Linked DNA regions of Homo sapiens: region 2 is linked to region 1. Evidence: promoter capture Hi-C in human tissues and cell types (Jung and others, 2019). All regions are on one chromosome and are shown on one strand. The core of a region is centred on a gene start or on the middle of the fragment in contact, and the rest is flanking DNA. Distances in the headings are between cores, read along the strand shown.

Region 1 (6,544 bases), core at 122-2,621:
CGAGGAAGCTGCGGGCTCCTGTGCGCCCTGGGAATCAGGGGGCACGGACGCCACGGCCTCGTCCCCTCCAGAGTCGCCGGGTTCCGCTCCTGCCTTCTCTTCTTCAGGCACTGGGTCCACCATGGCTGAGCCCCGTCCTTTGTTGGAATCTCTGCAGATCACAAGGAGGGACATCGAGGAATACGTCTGAGAGCTCTTCCCCCCTCCTCATCCATAGTCACCCCATCCCAACTTAATCCGCTTTCGGATTAGGCTCAGAGGCTTTGGTGGAACGTAAATCATAAAACCGATGTCGGAAAGCCCAGGCTGAGCGCCAGAACGGGGATGGGGGTGGGGCGGACACTCGTGTTCAGAGAGCAGCCTGGGTCTCCCTCAGCCCCGGAATGCGGGGTGGAGGCCTGTGGCGAGGCTCCTCTGGGCGCCTAGCCCGCTAGATGCATCCCCTTTCTGCTGCAAGTTAAGATGAAAAGATCCAGGTGCAGGCAGGAGCTAGAGAGGGAGGCGCTGGAGGATTCCCGGGAGGATTAGCGTATTTGTTTGTAGCTTAGGCGGGCTACTGGGGATGCAGCTTTGCAGGAACAAAAAAGCAAGAGGCCTGTTCATCCCAAGGGACCCCATTTGCCTAAGGGAAGAAGTTTATGGTTGATTTCCCCTGCCAAAGGAGACTCGGTCGCAAGGCCCCCGGGTGATTAAAGGGCTGGGAGAAGTCCCCAAAGGCCTCTCCGGGAGGGGTGATGGATTCTTGCTCCAGCAGCTCTGGCAGGGCTTACTGAGGGCTCTGCACGCCGCCTCCGCCCCCACCTCCACCCCCACCGGGTGTTTGCTGGGGATGGAGAAGGTGCCTGGATACTCTCAGACGCACCGGATCTCCTCCAAGTCTGAATGTGCTAAAGATACCATCCACCCCAGTCGGGGTTCAGATACCCGCCCTCGGGTGCCCTCCGAGTTCCCCCACAGCATCCCAGTGGGTGGGCTCCTGGAGTGCAAAGAACCTGGCCGCCCAGGTTCCCGCAGCTCCCGGTACCCGAGCCGGTTTACTCACCCCGCGTCCTGGGCTTCGGCCCCGCGCCAAGGGCTTTTGTTCGCAGCTCGCCGCTGTCCCCTGCGCTTCTTCAGTCTCTGCGCCGGCGGGGTCGGGTTACTGCCGGCTGCAACCGTGAAAGGAGCCCCATCTGCCGCCGCCAGCGTCTCTCCATGGGGTCTGCGAACAGGGCGCACGCACCCCAGATGCTACCTACACGTGGGAGGGGGAGTGCGACAATGTCTCCCTAAAATAACGCGGCTCTGCACCCTTCCCTCACATTGATTCTTTAAAAAAGAAGCCCGGTTCCGTCGCTGCGGCATCCCTCTACACCTCTACAACCGTGGAGGTACCGCAGGTCCCACGCTGCCCCCTGCGCCTCCTGGCGGACACTCGAGGGTGCTGGTTTGTTTGCTTCGAGGACGAAGGAGAAATTTTTGTTTAAATGTATATATGTACATATATACACACATATAATATGTATATATATACACTACACACATACAGGTAGATGTAGGTATAGATATGGATAGATATCGATATATAAATCACCAAGAAACCCTAGTCTTTCAGCAGCCTAACTGGGTAGAATGAAGGAATTGCTCAGCTTGTTTCTAAAGGAAACCCTGAGGAGCAAACAAACTTGATAGCGAATAATTGGGTGGAAATATGGCGCCTGATGCAAATTGTGATTTTTTTTTTTTCAATGAAAAACTAAAAACAGGCTGGGCAAGGTGGCTTACACCTGTAATCCCAGCACTTCGGGAGGTCGAGGCCAGTGGATTACTTGAGTCCAGGAATTTGAGACCAGCCTGGACAACATAGCGAGTCCCCATCTCTAAAAAAATTTTCAAGAATTAGCTGGGGTGGTGTCCTGTGCCTGTAGTCCCAGCTACTCCAGAGGCTGAAGTGGGAGGATCACCTGAGCCCAGGAGGTTGAGGCTGCGGTGAACCATGACTGCACCACCGCACTGCAGCCTGGGTGACAGAGTGAGACCCTGTCTCAAACAAAATAAAACAAAATAAAAACAAACAAAAACTAAGAACACTTATGGGTTTGACGCAGGTGGAACATATGTAACTGGTGTTTAATGCAACATTTTATGACTTCCTGGTTATAGATAATAACAATTATAACCAGTTAGTGCCATACAATGAGTGTTATTTTGAGACATCTCCTGCCCACCTCTTTTCCATTTTGAGTGATAGTGGCCGTAGGAGACAGACCGGAGGAGTGCTTGATGGAGGGAAGTCGAGGAGAGGATGGGACATAACATTAGAGGGAATATTGAACTATGCATTAAATAACCTTGGCTGGGTGTGGTGGCACACACCTGTAATCCGAGCACTTTGGGAGGGCGAGGCGGATGGATCACTTGAGATCAGGAATTCGAGACCAGCCTGGCCAACATGGTGAAACTCCGTCTCTACTGAAAATACAAAAATTAGCCGGGTGTGGTGGCATGCAGCTGTAATCCCAGCTACTCAGGAGGCTGAGGCAGGAGAATCGCTTGAACCTGGGAGGCAGAGGTTGCAGTGAGCCGAGATCTCACCACTGCACCCCAGCCTGATGACAGAGCGAGACTCCATCTCAAGAAAAAAAAATTAAATTTTAAAAAATAACCTTGACATTGTCAGGTAGACTGTGAGGAGAAAGTGAAGGGTTTTAAGTGGGGAAATGACATGATTTGGTTTTTATTTTAGGAACATAACTCTGGCAACAGTGAAGTGGAGGCTTTACAAAGGCCAGGGCCAAGAGGAGGCAGGAAGCCCAGTTAGCTGGACACTGTGGTCACCCCAGGCAGGAAGGATTGGGGCCAGAGAGGAACAGTGGCAGGAGGAATACAGCACATAGTGATGGGGAGGGCCAGGGAAGGATGGTTTCCTTTTCGGACCTCTTGATTGAGGTGGAGCTGCTCAGCAGGTGGCTGATAAGTTGTGTCAGAGATCTGGACTGGAGCTAGAATTAGGACATCGTGACCCTATACCTGGTTCCTAAAACCAACAGTGTGAGTGAGATCACTCAGGGAGGGCAGGTGGAGCAATGAGAGAGGCTGGCAGGGCATGGATAGGGCTGCTAAGGGAAAAGGAGTGCACGAAGGGGACCAACAAGGAGTGCAACAAGGACAGACAGCAAAGTGTGGTCTTGTGTGAGCTACCAGTGGGGCACTGCAGAAGGAGAGTGTGCCCCTTGTGTTAAGGGCTGCAGAGGTCCAGGAGGTTTCACCTGGAGTCAAATACCCACTGAAACTGGCAGTTATGAGTCTTGGGTGACATTGGCAAAAACAGCTTAGTATTGCACTAGGGCAGATGCCAAGTGCAGGAAGCTGAGGTGCAATGGGAGGTGAGAATTACTGATGCTTTTGACATTCAGGTAGTAGTTTTAAGAACACGAAGCCTTTGGAATTTTACCCTACTTACATACTAACAGGTGAGCCTGCCACTGTTCTGTATATGCTGGCAGAAGACAGGAGACTCCAGGGTCAGAAACCACTGACTTTGTTACTCATGGCACAGCAGGCAGCATGAGATCATGCTTTTGTTGGCTCCCCTTGCTCCATGTGTCCCATGGGTCATAGACAGGTAGTGAATTAGGTAGAGATTAGTAAACCCTAAACTTCTCAACAGGGCTACTAGCAAACCTGCTCAACCATTGCCCCAGTGACAGCATTATCTTTATTATCCTGGACTGCAAACAAATCTCCCTGCTTCCCTGGAGGGAGATTCTATCTCTATCATCCTTGAAAAACAGTCCAGCTGGGCATGGTGGCTCCTACCTGCAATCTGGCACTTTGGGAGGCCAAGGCGGGAGGATTGGCTGAGCCCAAGAGTTTGAGACCAGCCTGGGCAACATAGTGAGACCTTGTCTTTACAAAAATTAATAAAATTAGCCAGGCGTGGTGGTGCACACCTGTAGTCCCAGATACTCTGGAGGCTGAGGTAGGAGGATTGCTTGAGCCTGGGTGTTGGACACTGCAGTAAACTGTGATTGTGCCACTGCACTCCAGCCTCTCACTCTAGGGAACAAAGTGAGACTCTGTCAAGAAAGGAAGGATGGCTGGGTGCAGTGGCTCACGTCTGTAATCTCAGCACTTTGGGAGGCCGAGTTGGATGGATTACTTGAGCCCTGGAGTTCGAGACCAGCCTGGCCAACATGGTGAAATCCCGTCTCTATTTAAAATACAAAAATTTGCTGGGCATTGTGGCAGACACCTGTAATCCCAGCTACTCGGGAGGCTGAGGCAGGAAAGTTGCTTCAACCTGGGAGGTGGAAGTTGCAGTGAACCGAGATCACGCCGCTGAACTCCAGCCTGAGTGACAGAGTAAGACTCCATCAAAAAAAAAAAAAAAAAAAAAAAAAAAGGAAGGAAGGAATAATCCTCTTTACAAGATATGTAGAAATTGGCTGGGCACGGTGGCTCACACCTGTAATCCCAGCATTTTGGGAGGCCGAGGTGGGTGGATCATTTGAAGTCAGGAGTTGGAGACCAGCCTGGCCAACATAGTGAAACCCCATCTCTACTAAAAATACAAAAATTAGCCGGGTATGGTGGCAGGCACCTGTAATCCCAGCTACTTGGGAGGCTGAGGCAGGAGAATTGCTTGAACCTGGGAGGCGGAGGTTGCAGTGAGCTGAGATGGCGCCACTGCACTACAGCCTGGATGACAGAGTGAGACTCCGTTTCGGGGGGAAAAAAAAAAGACATGTAGAAATGACATTAAAAATTGCTCTGAATAGAGAAAAGCAGTTGGTCACAAAGCTAGTACAGGTGGGGCTGGGATTTGGACCTGGCTCTGTCTGATTCTGAAGTGGATCACATGCATTGTATTAATATTTCCACACCAAACTGAGTGTCTGTAGACATGTAGATTCAGATGGAGATGAGTAGGGTGGGCAAGTTGGCCTCTCCAAACCTCATTTTCCCCCCTTGCATAGAATCTTATTAAATTGCCTCCCTCAATGGCTAATCATGGCTGTGGAAAAACTATGTAGATGTTAACTTTATCCTTCAGTTTTCACATTTGTTAAATAGGGACAATAATGCCTACCTTCCAAGAGTGTTAGCAGAACTGGAACAGCTATATGCAAAGTACCTAGACCAGCACATTGTCAGTAAGCAGTGATACAATGGTTACCATTTCTTTCTTTCTTTTTTTTTTTTGAGATGGAGTCTCACACTCTGTCACCCAGGCTGGAGTACAGTGGTGCGATCTTGGCTCACTGCAACCTCCACCTCCCGGGTTCAAGCAATTCTTCTGCCTCAGCATCCTGAGTAGCTGGGACTAGAAGCGCACACCACCACGCCTGGCTAAGTTTTGTATGTTTGGTAGAGATGGGGTTTCACCATGTTGGCCAGGATGGTCTCGATCTCCTGACCTCGTGATCCACACGCCTCAGCCTCCCAAAGTGCTGGGATTGCAGGAGTGAGCCACTGCGCCCGGCTGGTTACCATTTATTTTGATAAACCTTATCTTACAGACATGGTGAGAATCAACATCTGCAGTATTTGCAAGTTCTTAAGGGGAAGCCCGACAAATGTTCTACCTTTGATTAAAGAATGATTCTGCATCTGGGAAGGTCATGCAAGGAGAGGGCAGGAGAAGGGGGCCTTGAAATAGGACACCAACATATCCAGCCACTTTGCTGGAACTGACTTGGTAGTCAATGCGGTGCCATCGAATTGTCAGGTATCTCCCACTTCTCATCTTTAAGTGCCTTGGACATTTCAGGAGATGGATTTCACTTCAGGTTGGGAGCTCTAGACTGCTGTAATTTAAGAGTGTTAAATCCAATTTTATTATAGTACCCAGTAAAGACAGCAGCCCAATTTGGGAACACTCACCTGCTTCTTATGAGTGGGGATAGTGGATATGATGGTAAAAAATGTGGGCTTGGGAGGCAAAAAGATGGGGCTGGGTGCAGTCACTGGCACCTGTAATCCCAACACTGTGGGAGTCTGAGGTGAGAGGATCACTTGAGCCCAGAAGTTTGAGATTGTGGTGAGCTAGGATTGCAACCACTGCACTCTAGCCTGGGCGACAGAGTGAGATCCTGTCTCATTAAAAGAAAAAAAAAAAGGCAGATGGGTAGTTCTAATTTCAGCTCCTCCAGGCTGTGTGATTTTAGGCAAGTTTCTTAACCTCTCTGAGCCTCAACTTCGTCTTTCAAAAAGGAAGGCACAATATGGACTGTTATTTTGCCTTACACAGACCCTTACAGATAATAACAATTAGGTACACCATTAGGTCCTTTAATATTACTAGCTCACTAATCTAGACAAATACAGTGTAGACATTATCATCTCCATTTAAATTCCTTTTGCACAGCCCCCACCACCCACTTCAGCTCAGTGTACTCACGCTCATCCATTCTCCTTCCTCTCAGTAGAGTCGAATTTGCAGAACAGAGGTTTTTTCACTCTAAAGTTCTACATCAGGAGTTGATAAACTATGATCTGTGGGCCAGATCCACTGCTTGGTTTTTGTAAATCAAGTTTTACTGGAACACAGTCATGCTTATTT
Region 2 (6,540 bases), core at 2,226-4,725, 330 kb before region 1:
GAGAGTTTTATAACACAGACGTGGTCACAGAGGAGATGCTTCAAGAGGCTGCCAGCCTGGAGACCAGGTACAAAGCACAGGAATTGTGGAATGTACCAGGGACATTAACCCTCATTACTTAGTGAGAATGCTTGCCAGGGAGGGGGCATTGGCTGCTTAGGCACAGTGCCTAGCCTCATGCTTCACCTAGTAGGTGTCTAGTAGTTTAAGATACCTTGGAAGTGGAATAGAACAATCTACTTGAGGAGTTCCTTTCCATAGGAAACTTGCTTTTGTGAGGTGCCTATCTTTGACCTTTTTAAAGATCATACACTTAATTTCGGTCATTTTTGTGATTAGCGTGCGAGTGCAGTTGTGGTGGAGCTGCATCTTACACATTCTATGCAGACGTAAATCCTCATGCCAGCACATGAGATGAAATAATAGTCCAATAACACCCTCGAAGTTCTGAAGTTCCCCATGAGATACAGTACATTCACCCCTCAGTATCCATGGGGGATTGGTTCCAGGACCTCCCTTGGATACTAAAATCCACCAATGCTTAAGTGCCTGATATACAATGGCATAGTATTTGCATATATCCTGCACACATCCTCCTGTATACTTTAAATAACCTGTAAATTACTTATAATACCTAATACAATGCAAATGCTATGTAAGTAGCTTTTATATTTTATTGTTTATGAAGTAATGAGAAAAAAGTTTGTACATGTTTGGTACAGATAGTACAGATAGTTTTTTTTTTTTTTTTTCCAAATAGTTTTGTGGTTTTTTTGTTTTGTTTTTTTGAGATAGTATATGGCTCTGTCACCCAGGCTGGAGTGCAGTGGCACTATCTTGGCTCACTGTAACTTCCACCTCCCAGGCTCAAGTGATCCTCTCACCTCAGCCTCCCAAGTAGCTGGGACTACAAGCATGCACCACCACACCCAGCTAATCTTTGTATTTTTTGTAGAGATGGGGTTTCACCAGGCTGCCCAGGCTGGTCTCAGATTCCTGACCTCAAGCAATCCACCTGCCTTGGAAGAACTGGGATTACAGGCATGAACCACTGTGCCTGGCCCCAAATCATTTTGATCTGAGGTTTGAATCCACAGATGCAGAACCCACAAAGATGGAGGGCCAATTCTATGTGTGGTTTTGTGTCTCCGACTTTATACAGGTCTGTGAGAACTGTGACTAATGAATTCATGGTTCCTATCTCACCTGCACTCCAGGGTATCGGCTCACTGAATGGAATGTTGAGCAGAATTGCTGTTACTATGTAAATTACTTTTCTCTTTTTTCCTTCCTTGCTTTCTCCCTCCTTCTCCATGAGTACATAGTTGAATTCTTGTGACACAATGCAGTATTCTGAAATGAGAAATGAATGGGCACGTGGCTCAGATGGTAAGAGCTCTGGGCTACCATGCGCAGTTCTGCCTCCCAACTGTCACTTTTTCCAACAGGACCAGGAGTTGAAATAAGGGAACTGATAAGTTCACAAAACCTTGAGCGTGATGCTGGTTTTTGTTAACTGAAAAATAAAAAAGTAACTCCAATTATAAGCAAATATTTAATTTTTTTAGAAAACAAAAATTTTTTTACTCTTATCCATTACTACTGATCCATTACAGATACTGCAAATATTTATTGAACAGTTATTTATAGATATACTATATCTTGCAGCAAACCAGCTAATAAACTTCACATAAATTGCCTTAATTGTTTCTCATGACAACCCGACAAAGTAGGATTTAGATTTCTTACTGGTTAACTGCTACTATATCTTAAATTTAAAAAATCTTTCAGGGTTTTAAAAGAATTATAGAATTTTATCCCCATAACTATTTTGTGAGGTTGTAGAATAGATGTTGTTTTGTAAGTAGCTGGGATTACAAGTGTGTGCCACCACACACGGCTAATTTTTGTATTTTTAGTAGAGGCAGGGTTTCACCTCGTTGGTCAGGCTGGTCTCGAACTCCTGACCTCAAGTGATCCTCCTGCTTTGGCCTCCCAAAGTGCTGGGATTACAGGCATGAGCCACCACGCCCAGCTGCCAATATGTTTTCTAAAGCAGCTAAACCTCCCCTTTCGGCCACAGACTTTTCTAACAAATTCATCTTGCTGAATTGGGTAGATGAATGCTGGACTTGTGACTGAGAAGAACAGTTGTTTGGAGACAGGCAAGTTAGTGGGAAGCGCATGAGCTAAATATTAATAATAAAGTGTCTGCAGATACCCAGAGACGCCAACACTGCTGGGGTGGCGGGTGTCTTGGGAGGGAGGATTGAACATGGGGTATGGATGTAGGGAGAGGAGAGTGTGTGTGGGCAGGGTGCTTCCTTGAGGAAGGTCATCTTTATTCACAGGAGGTGAAAGCACCATTCACACAGCATCGGAGCAGTTTTTTAAGGACTCTGCTTAGTTAGGAAGGAGGGAGGCATTCATCTTCTCATTTAATGGCACCATTTGCACAACTGAGCAACCATGGAAGCATTTCACTGTGACCGAAACACTTCTCACCACTGTGGCTTGGCATCTTTTTGTGAGAAAAAAGGCTCTAAAGAAATATGCTACCTTGCATTTGACATTCAGTTATTAAATTGTGTTGTGAAAAAGTGTAACATGCGGGCCGATTTAACAGCCTCATATAAATACTGTGTCCCAGAATGAACAACTTAAAAGAGGGGTGAACTGGTCACTGGGTAATCCTGGAAGAAATGGAAGACCAGCATTCTTCATCCATTATCAGCTGGATGGTAGTGCCCCTCTCGTGGGAGCTGAACATTATGAAGTGGCCTTCCTGTCAGTAGAGCTCAGAACCCTCAAATACCTTCTGTTGGGATTGCGAGTCGTATGTTCAGACTATAAAAAGGGCAGAGATAAGAAAGAGGATGTTTCGAAAACACCAAAGTAACTAACCCTTTAGGAGTCCTTCAACCTCCCCAGTTACCCTTGGCGCGCAGCATTTGAAGCTGTCTGTGAGGCCATCCTGCGCTTGTTTCCCTCAGACACTTTGTTTTTCATGTTTTGGCAGAATCTCCAATGAAAACTATGTTCCTCACGGGCTGAAGGTGGTGCAGTGTCACAGCCAGGGTGGCCTGCGCTCCCTCATGCAGCTGGAGAGCCGCTGGCGTCAGCACTTCCTGGACTCCATGCAGCCCAAGCACCTGCCCCAGCAGTGGTCAGTGGACCACAACCATCAGAAGCTGCTCCGGAAATTCGGGGAAGATCTTCCCATCCAGCTGTCTTGATAGCTGCTTTCCTCCCAGTTAGGACAAGTGGGAAGCTGGAGCCAAGGTTGAAGAGTCACCTCTTCCCATTTTAGTACATCATTAATTGTCAAAGCCTGTGTGACACAACTCAGAATACTAACCTAGACTAATCCCAGGATGCTTCTGCTGGAGCAAAGATATTGTTTGAAGGAGAGTTTATGGTTTTGGATTTTAAACGGGCAGGGTCTTTTTTCCTCTCATTTTTGTGGACAAGAGAGGCCTTCGCCTTTATTTTTACTCTCCCTCTTCTGCTGTCCCTGTGCAGAGGAAAAATGAAGAATTCTCCCAGAAGTGACTTGTCAAGACTTAAAAAAAATGTTTTTAATGCATTTCTTCCTTGTCTAGTGCCTCGGTTTATCTCTAACAGGGGCTGTCCAGTATATCGGTCCTGTTAGGAGGGGAGAAAAAGTTCTTCCAAAGGCTGGAGAAGTGAACAAGGAGTCAAATTTATTTTCCCAATTCAACTTCATAATTATCATTTCTTTGGCTTCATGCTCTCCCGTAACTCATGTGGTTGGGATCCATCCCATCTGGGTCACTTCAGTCTACTTCACGTACTTGAAAAGGCTTTCCTTTACACTTCCAGGACCAAACAGCAACTTCCTGCCACACACTTCCACCCTATCACTGGGAGAAATCCTTTTCTGGACATGAGCCTTTGACCTGGGTGGGGCAGAAAGAACCACAAACTCCATCTCCCAATAGAACTTTGAAATTCACTCAGCTTTTCCTTTCATGCTGTTTGTTGCCTGCTTGTTGCACTCCTCCTGCCCCAGAACTGCAAGATTTTTAGCTTCACCCCTTTCTGAGAGTAATGTTATCTTTTATCAGAATCAGTATCAGTTCCCCTGTATTCTGTGCTTCATCGAATTTGCAAGACTGACCTCTTTTAAGCATTTAATTCACTCCCAGAGTCATCTGGTCAGGTTGCAATATGAGGACTTCTCTGTCTCCTCTGAAGCCTGGGACACTGAGCTTACTTAATACATTAGATGTTCAAAAGAGGAGCGTTGTTTCATCTTTCAAAATGTTAGGCCATTACTTTGAGTATAAAATCGACTTATTAATGATTAGTAATTTTTCTAAAGTATTGGGAAAACTTTCTTATTTTATAAGATCTTAACAAGCTTAAAAAAGAATTTTATGACCAGAATCCAACAAGAGCTCTATTTTGGAATTGTGCCCAAGTTGGTGATGTTTACTCTAAAATTAATAATAAAACTACTTGTAAGCACAAGGCTCACTGGATGTAAATGTAAAACTTCGCGACTTTATAAAACTGGCATTCCTAGGGGAGGGGCTATTTATCCTACAGGTCCCTGCCTCCTGGCAGTGCCATGGTATGTGTGCATGGATATACCAGACACAGTCACCATCGGCCATCAGTAGCAGCCCATGAACCCACGTGCACATCCTGCATCTTGCTCTTCTGACCCTTCATTCCCACTTGTCTTCAGGCAGGCATTTCTGGGATCTAAACTAGAAATCCTTGAAAACAAATAGTACCAGCCACTTTGAGGAATGTGCATTCACTGTAGTGGGTTATTATGGGGTCTCTGCCTCCTGGCTGTGTTATGCGGAGCCCAGGAGTGGAGGAGAGCCGTGGAAATAGACAGGGAGAGGCTGGTACTTGGGTTGTGGTAATAGTCAGGCTTGCCACAAGAGGGCACTCATAGATTTGTTTTTATATTCATTCTTGAGAAAAAAGCAACTGGTTACTGAACGTAACTCATGACTTATGTTTCAAATTTTGCATAGCTGATTTTAAGTCATTTTGATAGCTTTGCAAGAAAAATTTTTCCTTTGAAACAAGGGAGTAGGGCTGTTTCATTTTCTTTCCTTCTAATCCTCATGCCAAGAGGTGAGAAACACTTAAGGTCATTTAAGGTGCTAGGGAAAGGGTTTTCCCATGGAGCTTTCTGTGAGGCGCAGTAAAATAGAGCCAGCAGCAAAGTAGAGGAAAAAGCCAGACTGCGTCACACAAGATTTCTCATCCTTTTCAGGAGAGAGTCACTGTGTAGATTTGAATCTTTTTTCTTTGAGTCTGCTTTGAACTTTAGCAGGCTTTTCCTAAGACTGACAATTGTCGTCTTAAATCAGAGATTTGAGGGTAGACTTATTTTATGGCAAATGTCTATTTTTCTGATATAAAAGTAACAATGCTCATTACAGAAGAATCTAAACAAAGAATAAAAATTAGCCATCTTCTCTCCATCTAAAACAGAGCTAAACTTTGCTGATATGTTTATGAATTTCCTTTCAGTATTAAAAAGTGCATATAAGGTGTATATTTACACAAAATTGAAGGTCATACATAGATACAGGTTGGTATCCTAACTTTACCCTCTCACTGATTAACATGGTATCACGAGTAACTTCCTATGTTTTTAAATCTTTGAAAATAGATTTCTAGTGGTTCTACCTTATCCATCCCCACACTGTTGAAAATTTTGGTTGTTTCAGATACTTTTATTATCAATGATGATGTGATAAAGTTTCTTGTATATATCTCTTTGGCTCTATCTTTGGTAATTTCTTAAGAATGGAATCTTAGAATTGGACTGTGAAGAGGGGGATTCACATTGCTGGGGCTAAGTACAAATTGACATCACCTTTTAGGAATGAAATGCTTCTCTTTGACCCTTTAGCTCCAGTGTCCCAGCATAGTCACTGGGCTTCATAGGAGTAGCAGTGAGAGGACAGTGTCACAGCAAGGGCCTCTCTGCATGCTCCCTGATCATTGTGTTTGCAGGTTCAGCATTTCTTCTTGAGTCCTTCCCTTCTTCCAACCTTATTGCCTCATTTCCCCCTTGTAGTCAATGTTTTTTGGAAACACTGTTTATTTTAAAATAAAAATGTAAAAAAAAGGTAAAAAAATAAAATTTTAAATTTTAAAATATAGGCTGTAGGCAGATGTTTTTTCCCTGCTACACAAACAATTAGTGATTTGCCATCCCAAAGTGAATGAGGCACAATATTCAGGGATTTGTTACGGCTTACGCTTAAGAGCACAGCCATAAGTTACTTATTCTTATCCATGTCACGGATAGAGATCAGATGACAAAATGTGTTCTGTTGAAATAAAGCCATTTTAATCATGCATTTTAGACTCTTAAGAATCCAGCAGGCAGAAAGAGGTTTTGTTCACCTTCCTATTCGCCTATTAGTTTGGGGCCCTAACATTTGACTGTAAGTTAAGTTCTTAGTTTACCCTGCCTCTCAATTTTTCATTCATTTATTTATCCTTTCTTCCTTTTTTTCCCCTTCCTTATGTCTCAGCCTT

Evidence for each region. The method cuts DNA at HindIII sites, captures the fragments that hold promoters and counts their contacts. A contact is called where the count stands out against the background at its distance.
Region 2: a contact is called between a fragment that was not itself captured here and the fragment with the promoter of CCDC177 in region 1, in 1 of the 25 tissues and cell types used here (lymphoblastoid cells).

Annotation. Positions count from the first base shown.
Region 1 is chr14:69,573,500-69,580,043 of GRCh38, forward strand. CCDC177 (coiled-coil domain containing 177) reads right to left here and starts at 1,372. Exons shown (of 2, transcript NM_001271507.2): 1 at 1,043-1,372; 2 at 1-151. The coding sequence starts at 123. The HindIII fragment of the contact is 5,538 bases long and covers 1-2,986 here.
Region 2 is chr14:69,237,865-69,244,404 of GRCh38, forward strand. EXD2 (exonuclease 3'-5' domain containing 2) reads left to right here. Exons shown (of 10, transcript NM_001193360.2): 9 at 1-67; 10 at 3,020-6,154. The coding sequence ends at 3,236. The region is part of intron 2 of GALNT16-AS1 (GALNT16 and EXD2 antisense RNA 1); the gene reads right to left. Among named protein-coding and RNA genes, the nearest start is that of GALNT16, 19 kb to the right of the region's middle. RefSeq lists an enhancer at 858-1,482. The HindIII fragment of the contact is 5,157 bases long and covers 898-6,054 here.